Linked DNA regions of Homo sapiens: all the other regions are linked to region 3. Evidence: promoter capture Hi-C in human tissues and cell types (Jung and others, 2019). All regions are on one chromosome and are shown on one strand. Each heading gives the region's core, a stretch centred on a gene start or on the middle of the fragment in contact. The rest is flanking DNA. Distances are from core to core; before and after follow the strand shown. Region 1 overlaps LOC105372424 (a long non-coding RNA gene). Region 2 overlaps IGFL2 (IGF like family member 2). Region 3 holds the start of NOVA2 (NOVA alternative splicing regulator 2). Region 4 has its middle 6.5 kb from the start of IGFL3.

What was found. Contacts are between HindIII fragments. The study calls those that stand out against the background at their distance.
Region 1: a fragment that was not itself captured here is called in contact with the fragment with the promoter of NOVA2 in region 3 in 3 of the 25 tissues and cell types used here (adrenal gland, dorsolateral prefrontal cortex and mesenchymal stem cells).
Region 2: a contact is called between a fragment that was not itself captured here and the fragment with the promoter of NOVA2 in region 3, in 2 of the 25 tissues and cell types used here (adrenal gland and bladder).
Region 4: a contact is called between a fragment that was not itself captured here and the fragment with the promoter of NOVA2 in region 3, in 4 of the 25 tissues and cell types used here (mesenchymal stem cells, spleen, stomach and 1 more).

What each region holds. Positions count from the first base shown.
Region 1 is chr19:46,170,504-46,173,419 of GRCh38, reverse strand. The region is part of intron 4 of LOC105372424 (a long non-coding RNA gene); the gene reads left to right. It also overlaps a transcript of IGFL2 not described here. Among named protein-coding and RNA genes, the nearest start is that of IGFL2, 24 kb to the right of the region's middle. RefSeq lists an enhancer at 2,238-2,788. The HindIII fragment of the contact is 4,773 bases long and covers 1-2,916 here.
Region 2 is chr19:46,150,446-46,153,755 of GRCh38, reverse strand. The region is part of intron 1 of IGFL2 (IGF like family member 2); the gene reads right to left. Among named protein-coding and RNA genes, the nearest start is that of IGFL2, 3.9 kb to the right of the region's middle. The HindIII fragment of the contact is 4,323 bases long and covers 1-3,310 here.
Region 3 is chr19:45,971,875-45,975,200 of GRCh38, reverse strand. It overlaps NOVA2 (NOVA alternative splicing regulator 2), which reads left to right and starts at 1,336. Exons shown (of 4, transcript NM_002516.4): 1 at 1,336-1,934. The coding sequence starts at 1,850. RefSeq lists a silencer at 1,011-1,170. The HindIII fragment of the contact is 35,305 bases long and covers 1-3,326 here.
Region 4 is chr19:46,129,666-46,132,712 of GRCh38, reverse strand. It overlaps a transcript of IGFL2 not described here. Among named protein-coding and RNA genes, the nearest start is that of IGFL3, 6.5 kb to the right of the region's middle. The HindIII fragment of the contact is 6,419 bases long and covers 1-3,047 here.

The DNA of each region.
Region 1 (2,916 bases), core at 307-2,806, 200 kb before region 3:
GCCTCAGGTATTCATTTATAGCAATGGAAATGGACCAACAGAGGTAGTCTGCTTTATAATGGGTCAGAACGTGAATCACATGAGGATACGATAGTGCTTGTTATTCCTGAATTTTCCACATCATACAATTCACCTTCTGGGCTCCATATAGGGGAAGTGATTCTGGAAAACGTGGTTCCCACTTCAGAAGGAACAGTGGTGTTGGGGACACGTTGACAACAGAAAGTCTAGCACAGTCCACCCCATTCAAAAATAAGCATCTGTAGACATTTTCAACTTCCAAATAAAAGCAGCAACAATACTATTTTCCACCTAATGTGATGCAACTATTCATTTTACAACCCAAAGACCTTTAATCTTCTCTATGGAAGAGATATTTGAAAATGCTAGTCCGTCTCCCAGATGACTAACAACCCCTTTTGCTCTTTCATGCTATAAATACCAAGGATCAACCAATATAAACCTATATTACATAGAGGGGTATGAAGGCACTGAGACAAAAAGCAGAGGACTCAGTTAATACAGAAACTATATTCACATCAGCTGGGCATGGTGGCACATGTCTGTAGAGCTACTCAGAGGGCTGAGGTGGTAGGATTGCATGAACCTGGAAAGTGAAGGTTACAGTGAGCCAAGATCGCACCACTGCACTCCAGTCTACATGACAGAGCGAGACCTTGTCTGAAAAAAAATATATATATATACACATCAAAGTGAGGAAGATTATATAAATATCTAACTTAGTCCTTGTTTCAGCAGCTGGCCTTGAGGCTAAAGCTGGCATTTAAAAATTTCCTCTTTCAAGTTAGACACAGTGGCACATGCCTGTAATCCCAGCTACTCAGGTGGCTGAGGTGGGAGGCTCATTTGAGTTCCGGAGTTCAAGACCAGCCTGGGGAACGTAACAGAACTCCACCTGAAAAAAAATTTCTTCCACTATCCATTCCATAATCCCTATGCTCTCAGCAAACACCTCAACTGGCTGTGATTTTTTAACCTGGTGAAGTTACTCACGTCTTCATGAAGTATACATTCCCTCAGGAGTCCTTCCTGTAATGGATTATTATCATTTTCCCATGTTTTACAATGGGACGTGGGAGTTCTAAGAGGCATCCCACAGAATGCCTTGTGTGAGTGGTATAGTTATACTCTCTTCTGCCGATTGTGTAGTAACTACCCAATTCCCCCCTTGATAATCAGGACAATTTGCCACTTTTTACTATCAGGCTTTACACGATTTCTTCTACCTTAGACTATATAACCATTCAGTTACATCCAGGTTAATGGCTTCCACTTCCAAAGTCCGTATCTCTGGAGTCAACAGCAAGAACACTTCCTGCCAAGGACTACTCCAGATTTTTGCATGCTTAATCCAAAGCAAAAATAAGACCTTTTGAATTAGGGATGTTTCTATCATTAATCTTCATCACACATAATTTTTTTTTTGCAATTCAGATTCCTGGTGAAAGTTCTTCAGAGCTTCAAATTCCTTTTGGTGTAACAATATATTATTTGCACCAATTTTACCTGTACGGCACCCACTTTTCATTCTTATAAAACTTATCACTTGGTAAAAAAAATTCTCACTTTTCCTGAATGTCCTTTTGGTTCCTTGTAATATCCTCCATCTAGGCCATTCAACAGGGTGAGCTTCATACTGATGGGGAGTTCAAGAAGGGAGTTATCAAAAGATAAAGTAAGTGTACTCGCATTTTCTCCTTGAGAGGTTGGGTAAGTCAACAATAGACTAGACCTATGGAATATGAGAAACAGCAGGCTGTCCCTATAAGACAGGAGACTGCTGAGAGCTATGCTGAGTCCAAGGAAGAGAAGGCAGTTGTAAATTGTACTCAGAGTTAATTTGCCCTGACAGAAAATGGAGATAGAGAAAAATAAGACACAATACTCTGAAATGTGCATCTCCATGTCATTCCATGAATGGTATGGTCTAAGTTTGATTGTTTTATCAGTAGAGATTATCTTCGAACTCATCTGAGTGAGCAAGTCACCACTCTTGCCCAATAGCTTCTTCTCTCTGTCAATCTGAACCCCACCCATAATCTCGTCTTGAATAGCACCTCCCTCTGGCTGACTCCCCTTGACTTAGCTCCTGGCTCTTGACCCAGAAAGTGACTCATTCAGGCTATCACTTATCGGGGGAAGCAGCCCCCGATAATTCAACGTAGGTTCTTTTCTGTTTTCCCTAAGTGTCGGCCAGTCTGAGAAATAAAGCGAAAGAGTACAAAAGAAAGAAATGGTAAAGCTTGGTGTCTGGGGAAGACATCACAGGTCGGCAGGTTCCATGATGCCCCCTGAGCCATAAAACCAGCAAGTTTTTATTAGCAATTTTCAAAGGGGAGGGAGTGTACAAATAGGGTTTTATTAGCAATTTTCAAAGGGGAAGGAGTGTACGAATAGGGTGTGGGTCACAGAGATCACATGCTTCAAGGGCGACAAAAGATCACAAGGGCAGAAGGTCAGGGCGAGATCACAAGGTCAGGGTGAAACTAAAATCACTAATGAAGTTTCATGTCCCGCCGTGCACACATTGTCATTGATAAACATCTTAACAGGGTTCAAGAGCAGAGAACTGGTCTGACTAGAATTCGCCAGGCTGGAATTTCCTAATCCTAGCAAGCCTGGGGGTGCTGCAGGAGGCCAGAGCATGTTTCATCCCTTATCTGCAACTGCATAAGGCAGACACCCCCAGAGTGGCCATTTTAGAGGCCCCCCTGGGAAGGCATTATTTTCCCAGGGCTGTTAATTATTAATATTCCTTACTGGGAAAAGAATTCAGCAATATTTCTCTTACCTGTTTTCCGTAATAAGAGAAATATGGCTCTGTCCTGCCCAGCCCACAGGCAGCCAGACTTTAAGGTTATCTCCCTTGTTCCCTGAAAATCACTGTTATCCTGT
Region 2 (3,310 bases), core at 356-2,855, 180 kb before region 3:
ATAATTATCTGGAGTAGTTAGCGATCCAGCACTCATGCCCAAGGCTGCACCCTCTGGAGAGCACTAATAAAATAGAATTGTGTAATTATATAAGCAATTATATAACTTGTAACTACTTATTAAAACAGTATAATTGCTTATTTCTTATCCTTTCTTCTCTTAACTGGTCTTAAAAGTAATGGCATAAAACAATATGTACATAATTGTATTGCTGGGAAAAATAAAGAATCTGATTTTAAAAGGGGCAAAAGATCTGAATACCTAGTTCTCAAAAGAAGACATACAAACACTCAAGTATATGAAAAAAGTATATGAAAAAATGTTCAACATTACTTACATTAGGGAAATGCAAATCAAAACCACAATAAGATACCTCATCTCAGTTAAAATGGCTTTTATCAAAAAGACAAGAAATAACAGATGCTGGCAAGGATGCAGAGAAAGGGGAATACCCATACACGGGAAATGCCCATCCAGACCCAGATGGTGAATTTTACAAAACAATTAAAGAAGGCTTAATACCAATCATTCACAAACTTTTCAAAAAAACCAAACACAACTTTCCAGTCTATTCTGAGGCCTGTATTACCCTGATACCGAAACCAGACAAAGACATCACAAGGAAAAAAAACTACAGACCAACATCTCTTATGAATATAAGTTCAAAAATCCTCAACAAAACATAGCAAACCAAATCCAGCAGCATATATAAAGAACGATACGCCATGACCAAGTGGATTTATCCCACGGATGCAAAGTTGGTTCAACATATGAAAATCAATTAATATAATACACCACCTTACTAGACTATAGGAGGGAGACACGTAATTCTCTCAAATGATACTGAAAGAGCATTTGACAAAATCTACACTCTTTCATGATAAAATACAAAGAACAAACTAGGAATAGAAGAGAGTTTCCTCAACCTGTTAAAGAGCATCTACAATAAACTCATAGCTAACATCATACTTAATTGTGAAAGATTGAATACTTTCCCCCTAATATCAGGGACAAGACAAGTATATCCACTCTTACCACTCTATTCAAGATAGCATTGGCGGTTCAAGCCATGAAAGTTAGGCAAGAAGATAAAATGAATTTAGACTGAGAAAGATAAAGTAAAATGATTTCTATTTGCAAATGACATGATTTTGTATGTTAAAAATCCTAAGGACTAGGCACAGTGGCTCACTCCTGTAATCCCAGCATTTTGGGAGACCAAGTGGGGAGGATCACTTGAGGTCAGAAGTTTGAAACCAGCTTGGTCAACATAGCGAGACCCCATCTGTATAAAAATAAAAACATAAAAAAATTAGCCAGGGATGGTGGCACATGCCTGTAGTTCTAGCTGCTCAGGAAGCTGAGGCAGGAGGATTACTTGAGCCCAGGAGTTCGAAGCTGCATTGAGCTATGATCACACCACTGCACGCCACCCTGCATGATAGAGTGAGATTCTGTCTCAAAAAAGAAAAAGAAAAAAAAAAAAAAACCTAAGGAAGCTACTATGACCTAAAGACTAATAGAAAAATTCAACAGGATTGTAAGATAAAAGAGATCAACATATAAAAAGCAATTGTATACACTAGTAAAAAACCATCTAAATATGAAATTAGGAATATAATTCCACGTACCAAAGAGAATAAAATACTTATGAATAAATTGAACAGAAGAGGTGCAAGATTTGTGCATTAAAAACAACAAAACATTGTTGAAAAGAATTAAGAATATGTAAATAAATGGAAATACATCCATGTTCGCAAATTGGAAGACTTAATATTGTTCAGGTGCCAAAAATCCCAAATTGATCTATAGAATCAATGCAATCCATATCAAAGAACTTTTGTGAGATCAAGTGTCACTCTGTCACCCAGGCTGGAGTGCAGTGGCGTGATCATGACTCACTGCAACCTCCGCCTCACAGGCTTAAGTGATCCTCCCACCTCAGCCTCCCAAGTAGCTGGGACTACAGACGCACACCGCATGCCTGGCTAATTTTTTGCATTTTTTGGTAGAGATGTGGTCTCACCATATGGCCCAGGCTGGTCTCTTAACGCCTGAGATCAAGCCATCCACCTTCCTTGGCCTCCAAAAGTGCTGGGATTACAGGCATGAGCCACAGGACCCAGCCTTCTCTGAAGAAATTAATCAGTTGATCCTAAAACTCATATTGAAACATAAAGGACCGAGAATAACTAAAACGATCTTGAAAAAGAACAAAATTGTAGAATTGATACTTCATGATTTCAAAGCTTACCACAAAGCTATAGTGACAGTGTAGGAGCTGACACACAGGATAGACATATAGATCAATGAATAAAACTAACAGTCAGAAAATAAACCCTTAGATTTGTTGAAATCAAATTTCAACAAAAGTGCTAGGACTATGAAGTAAGGGAACAAATGATTTTTCAACAAATGGTGCTGGGAAAACTGTATATTCATACACAAAAGAGTGGGCAGAAAGAGGATCTCTTCCTCATACCATACACAAGGATTAACTCAAAATGTATCACAGACCTAAATACAAGAGCGAACATATAAAACTCTTAGCAGAAATGTAAAATAAGCAACCCACAGAAAGACAAATACCACACCATCTCACTTGTATGTAGAATCTAAAAGAGTTGAACTCATAGAAGTAGAGAGAAGGGCAGTTACCAGAGGATTGGTGTGGGCAGATGGGCAACAGGGAGATAAGCAAATGATATGAAGTTACAGTTAGACAGGAAAGATAGGTTTTAGAGATCCACTGCAGGGCACGGTGACTATAATAAATAATAGTGTATTGTGGGCTGGACGTGATGGCTCATACCTGCAATCCCAGCACTTTGGGAGGCCAAGGAGGAGGGTTGCTTGAGCCTACAAGTTGGAGACCGGCCTGGGCAACACAGTGAGACATCGTCTCTATGAAAAACAAAATTAGCATGGTGTGGTGGTGCGTGCCTGTGGTCTCAGCTACTTGGGAGCTGAGGTGGAAGGATCACTTGAGCCTCAGAGGTAGAGGGTGCAGTGAGCTGTGATCACACCACTGCACTCCAGACTGGGCATCAGAGTGAGACCCTGCCTCTTAAAAAAACAAATGGTGTGTTGTATATTTCAAAATTGCTGAAGAGTATATTTTAAATGTTCTAGTGACAAAAAGTAATAAGTATATTAGGTGGTAGATATGGTAATTAATTTGATTTATCATTTAACAAGGCAAACATACATTAAATCATCATATTTTACCCCATAAATATACACAATTATTCTTTGTCAACTTCTTAAAAAGATTCCTAGCAGAAAACATACAAGTAAGTCTTAATGACCT
Region 3 (3,326 bases), core at 87-2,586:
CATTCCAAAGAAAGGCACCCTAGTTCCAATGACTTTGGGCTCTGAAATTGGACTTGTCCTGCGTTCTCATCCCAGTTTCTCTCTCTCAAGCTGTGTGCCCTTGAAGAAGCCACCCTCAATGTTCCCAGGCCTCCACTTTGTCATCTGAAAACAAATTTTTCTTAATGACATGAGTAGTAATACTGTACAAGGGCCAAGGCTGTTTTGTTCTCTATTGTATCGCAGCATCAGGGACAGTGCCTGGCACTTAGTAGGTAGGCCCTGAGTGCTGTTGTTTGAATGGAGAGCCAGTTGTGCCCCAGGGCAGGTGCTGCAGGCTGCAACTCCAGCTCAGTGAATTCAATCCTCTGAGCCCTTTCAGCATCACGGTGTTGATTCTTCAAAGGATGGATGAAAGATTTGAAGGGGAATTTCCCAGCTGAAAGGATTGAAAAAGAGTGAAGTGAAATTTCTTTCTCTTTCTTTCTTTCTTTTTTTTTTTTTTTTTTGAGACAAGGTTTTGCTCTGTCTCCCAGGCTCGAATCTAGTTGCTTGATCATGGCTGACTGCAGCCTCAAACTCCTGTGCTCAAGAGATCCTCCCACCTCAGACTCCAGAGTACCTGGGGCTACAAGCATGTGCTACCACGCCTGGCTAATTAAAAAAAAAATTTTTTTTTTGTAGAGATGGGGTCTCACAATATTGTTGCCCAGCTCGTCTCAAACTCCTGGGCTCAAGTGATTCTTCCGCCTCGGCCTCCCAAAGTGCTGGGATGACAGGCATGAACCACCGCGCCTAGTCGAAATTTCTTGTCTTGACCAAGTGAAGTCAAAGTAAGCTCCTAAGGCTGTTTCCTCATCTGTAAAATAGGGATAATAAGCGTAACTCACAGAGCTGGTCGCTCTGGGGAGTAAATGCGATAACGTCTGTGACGTGCTTGCTTGGAACCGGACCTGGCACACAGTAAGTGCTCAATAAACGTTCATTCAAGGTGAGGAGTGGGGACGGCTTGGAGGAGCCCGGGGTCCTCCCAGCAGCCTGGGGGAGTCGGGTCCAGCTCTCTGCCGCCGGGAGGGGCGTGGCCAACCCAGAGGGACGTGGTCCAGGCTTCAAGGCTGGACCAATGGGGGCGCCGAAGGGCGTGGCCCTACCCGGCATGGGCGTGACCTCGTTGGGTGGGAGGGGCCAGGCGCTGTGGGAGCCTCCGGGAAGAAGATGCTCGGGCCAGCAGCCACCGCCAGCCCCGTCGCCGCCGCCGCCCGCGCCCGCCGCCCCCCGGGCCCCCACTAGCGGCCGCCTCCGCCTCCCACTCCGGCCACGCTCCTCCGGCCCCCCACCCCGAGCAGGGTCTGGGGGGCTCGGCCCTCTTGCCCCAGGGAGCCAAGAAGAAGCGGGGAGTCCCGTCCCCCCAGTGGCGCGTCCAGTCCCCAGCCTCTGTGGTCCCAGGAGAGACCCCACCTCTCAGTTCTTTCCCGGCCCTATCGGAGACCCCCCTCGGCCCTGCCATCCTGCTCACGGCCGCTCTCCAGGCTCTGTCAGCCCCCCGAGAACCGGCTCCCCCCTACCCCCGCCTTCCCTCTCCGGGGCTCCCCCTCCCCCATCCCTCCACCGCCCCCTCCCCCTCCCACCTCCCCTCCCCTCCCCCTCCCCCGCCCCCCGCCCCCCGCCCCCCCCCACCATGAGGATGATGGCCGCCGGCGCGGTGCACGGCCTCTTCACGGCCTCCGCGGCCCCGCAGCCGCCGCCGCCCCCGCCGCCGCCGCCGCCGCAACCCCAGCCTCCCCAGCAGCCGTCGCCGCCGCCACAGCAGCCGCCGCCGCCGCCGCCGCAGCCGCCGCAGCAGCAGCAGCCGCCGCCCCAGGCCCCCCCCATGGAGCCCGAGGCCCCGGATTCCCGCAAGAGGCCCCTCGAAACGCCCCCCGAGGTGGTCTGCACCAAGCGCAGCAACACGGGAGGTGAGAAAGGGCTGCGGCTCGGGGCGGGGGAGCGGGCAGGGGGCCTCGCCTTTCTCCATCCTTTCCCCCCCTCCCGTGGCAGGTGCAAGGGCTCTGGGGAGGGGAGAGACACCCCTCCCCGAGGCGGGGGACAGAGCGGGGAGTTGAGGAGGGGGCTGGACCCCCTCCTCCTCTCGCTGAGGCCCGGGGCTGGGAGCTTTGTCTGCGAGGAGAGGGGTGGGGGGGAGGGGGTGATAAGTGTCCTTGGGGGGCGCAGAAGATGGGGGGCGTGGGAGCCTCAGGGCAGGTGTCTGTGTGTCCTTGAGGGGTGTGTGATGTGACCCTTTCGGAGCAGGGGTGTTCCCCGAGCTCGCGTGTCCTGGCTGGGGGAGGGGAAGGAGTAGAGGCCTGTGGACCGGGAGCTTCCCAGCCTCCCTCCCTGGGGATGTCCTGAACAAGGGTTGTCCCAGATGGAGGCTTGTGTGGCCCTGGCCGGATCGTGCGTGGGGACAGGCTGGGTAGGTGTGTGGGGTGAAATGGAGGAAATGGTGGGTGTGTAAAGCTAGGTGGGAGAATGTGAGGCTAGGACAGGTGTGTATGTGTGTGCGTGTGTGTGTATGTGTGCCCTCTACAGCCTGGATGTGTGACATTAGGGATCAGGAATATGACAGCATAGGGGGGTGTATGAGAAAGACAGGGGACAGGGGCTGGGCTCCATGTTTGAGACCCTCCAGCGGGTACGTGTGACAAGGAAAGGTGTGTGCTTGTCACCCCCAAGGGGGCTGTGGCAGAGTGTGACACATGAGAGGGTGTGTGTGACATGCAAGGAGGTGTGTGGGGGACACCGAATGGGCTGGCTCTGGGTGTCAGCCAGAAGAGGCCGTGTAGATCAGAGGAAAGGGGTCCAGTGTGTGTGACACAGGCGTGGCTGGTGAGGGGATGTGACAAGAAAAGGGTGTGGGTGTGACTCCAGAGAGGCTGTGGCTGGGTGTGACACATGGAGGTGTGCAACAGTGACATCAGAGGGGGTGTGTGCAACAGGGAAGGTGGGTGTATGACGAGGGAGAGGCTGGGGCTTGTGGGTGAAACGCACGAGGGTGTGTAAAAAGGAGAAGGAAGGATGGGTCCCCATGTGACAGGGCACGTGTGCATATGACACCCAGCTGTGTGTATGGGTGTAACAAGGAGAGGTGTGTGTGTGAAATGGCTGAGTGTGTGACACCAGAGATATGGGGATGATTCTGCATGTGTTTGACAAGGGAGGCTGTGTGTGTGTCCGTGTGTATTGGAGATTGCCGAATGTTTGACACCACGGAAGGCAGTGTGAGGGAAGAGAGGGGCTCTCCCTGGGTGTGTGACCCAAGGAGGTGTGTGTACCAGAGAAGAAAAGCCGAGCTGGGAACTCTAGGTGCA
Region 4 (3,047 bases), core at 329-2,828, 160 kb before region 3:
CCTCCTTCCCTTTCTTCTTCTTTCCTCTCCCTCTCCCTCCCTCTCTCCCTCTATCGTTTTCCCTCCCTCTTCCTCTCCTTCTCTCTCCCCTTCTCTGTCATACTGGCCCTCAATCCTGTAACTCTATTCAAAACCCCTCACCACTTCACTTTCTCTTTGCCACACCATGTGAGGAGGGGAAGCCTGTGGACTTTTCTGTCATCTGTCTGTTTGGGTGTGTGAGTCTATCAACTTTGGGTGCTGGCTTTTTAAGGAGAGAACTGACAGCACGTGGAACCAAAGTTTGTGTCACTTATGTCCCAATGAATTGTTTTCTTTCTGTGCATTTAATTCAATATCTTATTTTCCCATGCAACCCACTGGTTGGCCTCTTGTAAAAAGGAGAGACTTTTGCCTATGGTTCCATGAAATGGAAAGGGATCATTTTCTTTTGTAACGTGGCTTGGCCCCCACAGCTATGCCACAGGGAGCAAGGTCACCAAAGTTGCTCAGAAAAAGAGAACCCAAAACCGTAGCATGCCAGCAAAAGGGTAAGAATTTCTTACCAGCCAGGCTTCTGGACTTTCTCTGTGTGTGTGTGAAAACTGGTTAAGTGAATGACAAAATTCACTGTTTCCCTCCTCTGCAAGGCTTTAACCCATTTCCTGTTGGCCAAGAATATTCTTATCTTTAATACTAATGTAAAATCATATACATTTCTGCTACGTTAATACTAGAGACAAGTTCTGTTTAGAAACAACTCCAAGAACAGTTTTGTTTTTGTTGTTGTTGTTTGAGAGGGAGTCTCGCTCTGCTCCCCAGGCTGGAGTGCAGTAGCATAATATTGGCTCACTGCAACCTCCACCTCCTGGGTTCAAGCGACTCTCCCACTTCAGCCTCCCGAGTAGCTGAGACTACAAGCATAGGCCACCATGCCCGGCTAACTTTTGTATTTTTAGTAGAGACAGGGTTTCACCATATTAGCCAGGCTGGTCTTAAACTCCTGGCCTCAAGTGATCTGCCTGCTTCAGCCACCCAAAGTGCTGCGATTACAGGCATGAGCCAAGAAGGGGTTTTTATGTTTTATTTTCACACTGAAAATCAGTCATATTCGCTTCAGCCTCGAAGAGCATGTTTACGTAAAATTAAATGGGTGTTGACAGCAAACTAGACCTAATAAAAAAAGAAGTCGATAAACCTCTGAGACAGAAAGTATTAAAACATTAGAATGCTCATGCTTTCCAAAGCCAAACAATGTTTACAAAAAAATTTCATCTGAATTCCCATTTTTAAATTTTGCTATTTTTTAGGAGGAGGGTTTAGAAAATTACTTGGGAGCTCTTAAAGCTGACTGCACAAATATTGTCGAGTAAAGCTTAATGTAGTGTAATAAGGAGAGAAGTTTTTGTCTATTATTAAAATTTAAAACAAAGCTACTGTAAATGAACCAGACACTACCTAGAAAAATTACACATAAATCAATTGAACAGAGTCCATCAACAGATAAAGCTAATAATGGAAAACTGAGATATAAGAAAAGTAACATTGTACATTAGAAGAAAAGGGATGAAACTAGTCAACAAGTAATTTCAGATTCAATAGGACATTCATTAGCAAGAAAATTAACTTAGACTCAGCATCACATCTTATAGAAAAAGTTATATGTGAATAAAAATGACTAAAAAGAAAGTAAAAATATAGAACTATTCATAGAACTTTAAGTTGGAGATGGCCTCCTTACGTAAGCGGAAGCCAAAAAGTGGAAAGAAGATGTAGGGCAGTGGTAAAAGACACTGCTGCATAAAAATTTAAAATATCTCAAAAAAGAAGACTCCACCAGCATTACTGAGAAACAAACACAAAGGCGAGGAAAACATATAACAGACAAAAGGTTAGTATCTCCCATATAAAAAGAGCATTTATAAATTAATAAGAAGGAAGCAAACAACCCAAAACAATTATTCTGAATAGTGTATCATTTACAGAAAAGGAACTATACATCATTAAACATAAAAATAATGAGAAATACTGGGAACCTTCATCCAAGCTCATAAATTTCTTCTAATCTTAGTTCTTGCTCACTTTATTTTTTAATTTGGAACCTACCAAAGATAATAAATTCCTCTTTTTGCCACAGCTTAAGCTAGTTTAAACTGGCAAGCAACCACTTGCAAGTAACCAGTTTATAAACATAATGAAAAGGTGCTTCCAAGAACCTCAATAAACAGCATGTAGACAAACAAATGCCATATTTTAAATAACATGGTATGTTCTTTAACTCATCATCTGATGCTTGCTGGGGGAACTAAAATATTTATCAAAACTCTAAAGAAGTTATTGCCCTGTGAGATAATGAAAAAGGCTGTTTCATAGGAAACGTGTACTTCACCCACTTAGTTCAGGAGATCATACCCTGTAGTATTTGGTTTAAATAAACAGTGAACCTGAACCCTTGAAACTGCATGCAGTCCATCTCACATGCAATTACACCCACAGGCTCAAAATAAAGGGATGGAGGAAAATCTACCAAGCAAATGGAAAACAGAAAAAAGCAGGAGTTGCAATCCTAATCTCAGATGACTTTAAACCAACAAAGATAAAAAAAGACAAAGAAGGGTATTATGTAATAGTAAAGGGTTCAATTCAACAAGAAGGCCTAACTATCCTAAATACATATGCACCCAACACAAGAGCACCCAGATTCAGAGAGCAAGCTCTTTGAGACCTTCAAAGAGATCTAGACATCCATACAATAATAGTGGGAAACTTCAATACCTCACTGACAGTATTAGACAGATCATCAGGTCAGAAAATTAACAAAGATATTCAGGACCTGAACTCAGCACTGGATCAAATGGGCCTGATAGACATCTGCAGAACTCTCCACACAAAAGCAATAGAATATACATTCTTCTCACCACCACATGGCACACATTGAAAAATCGACCACATAATCAGACACGAAACACTCCTCAGCAAACACAAAAGAACCGAAATCATAACAACCACTCTCTCAGACCATAGCACAATCAAATTAGAAATCAAGACTAAGGAATTTGCTCAAAACC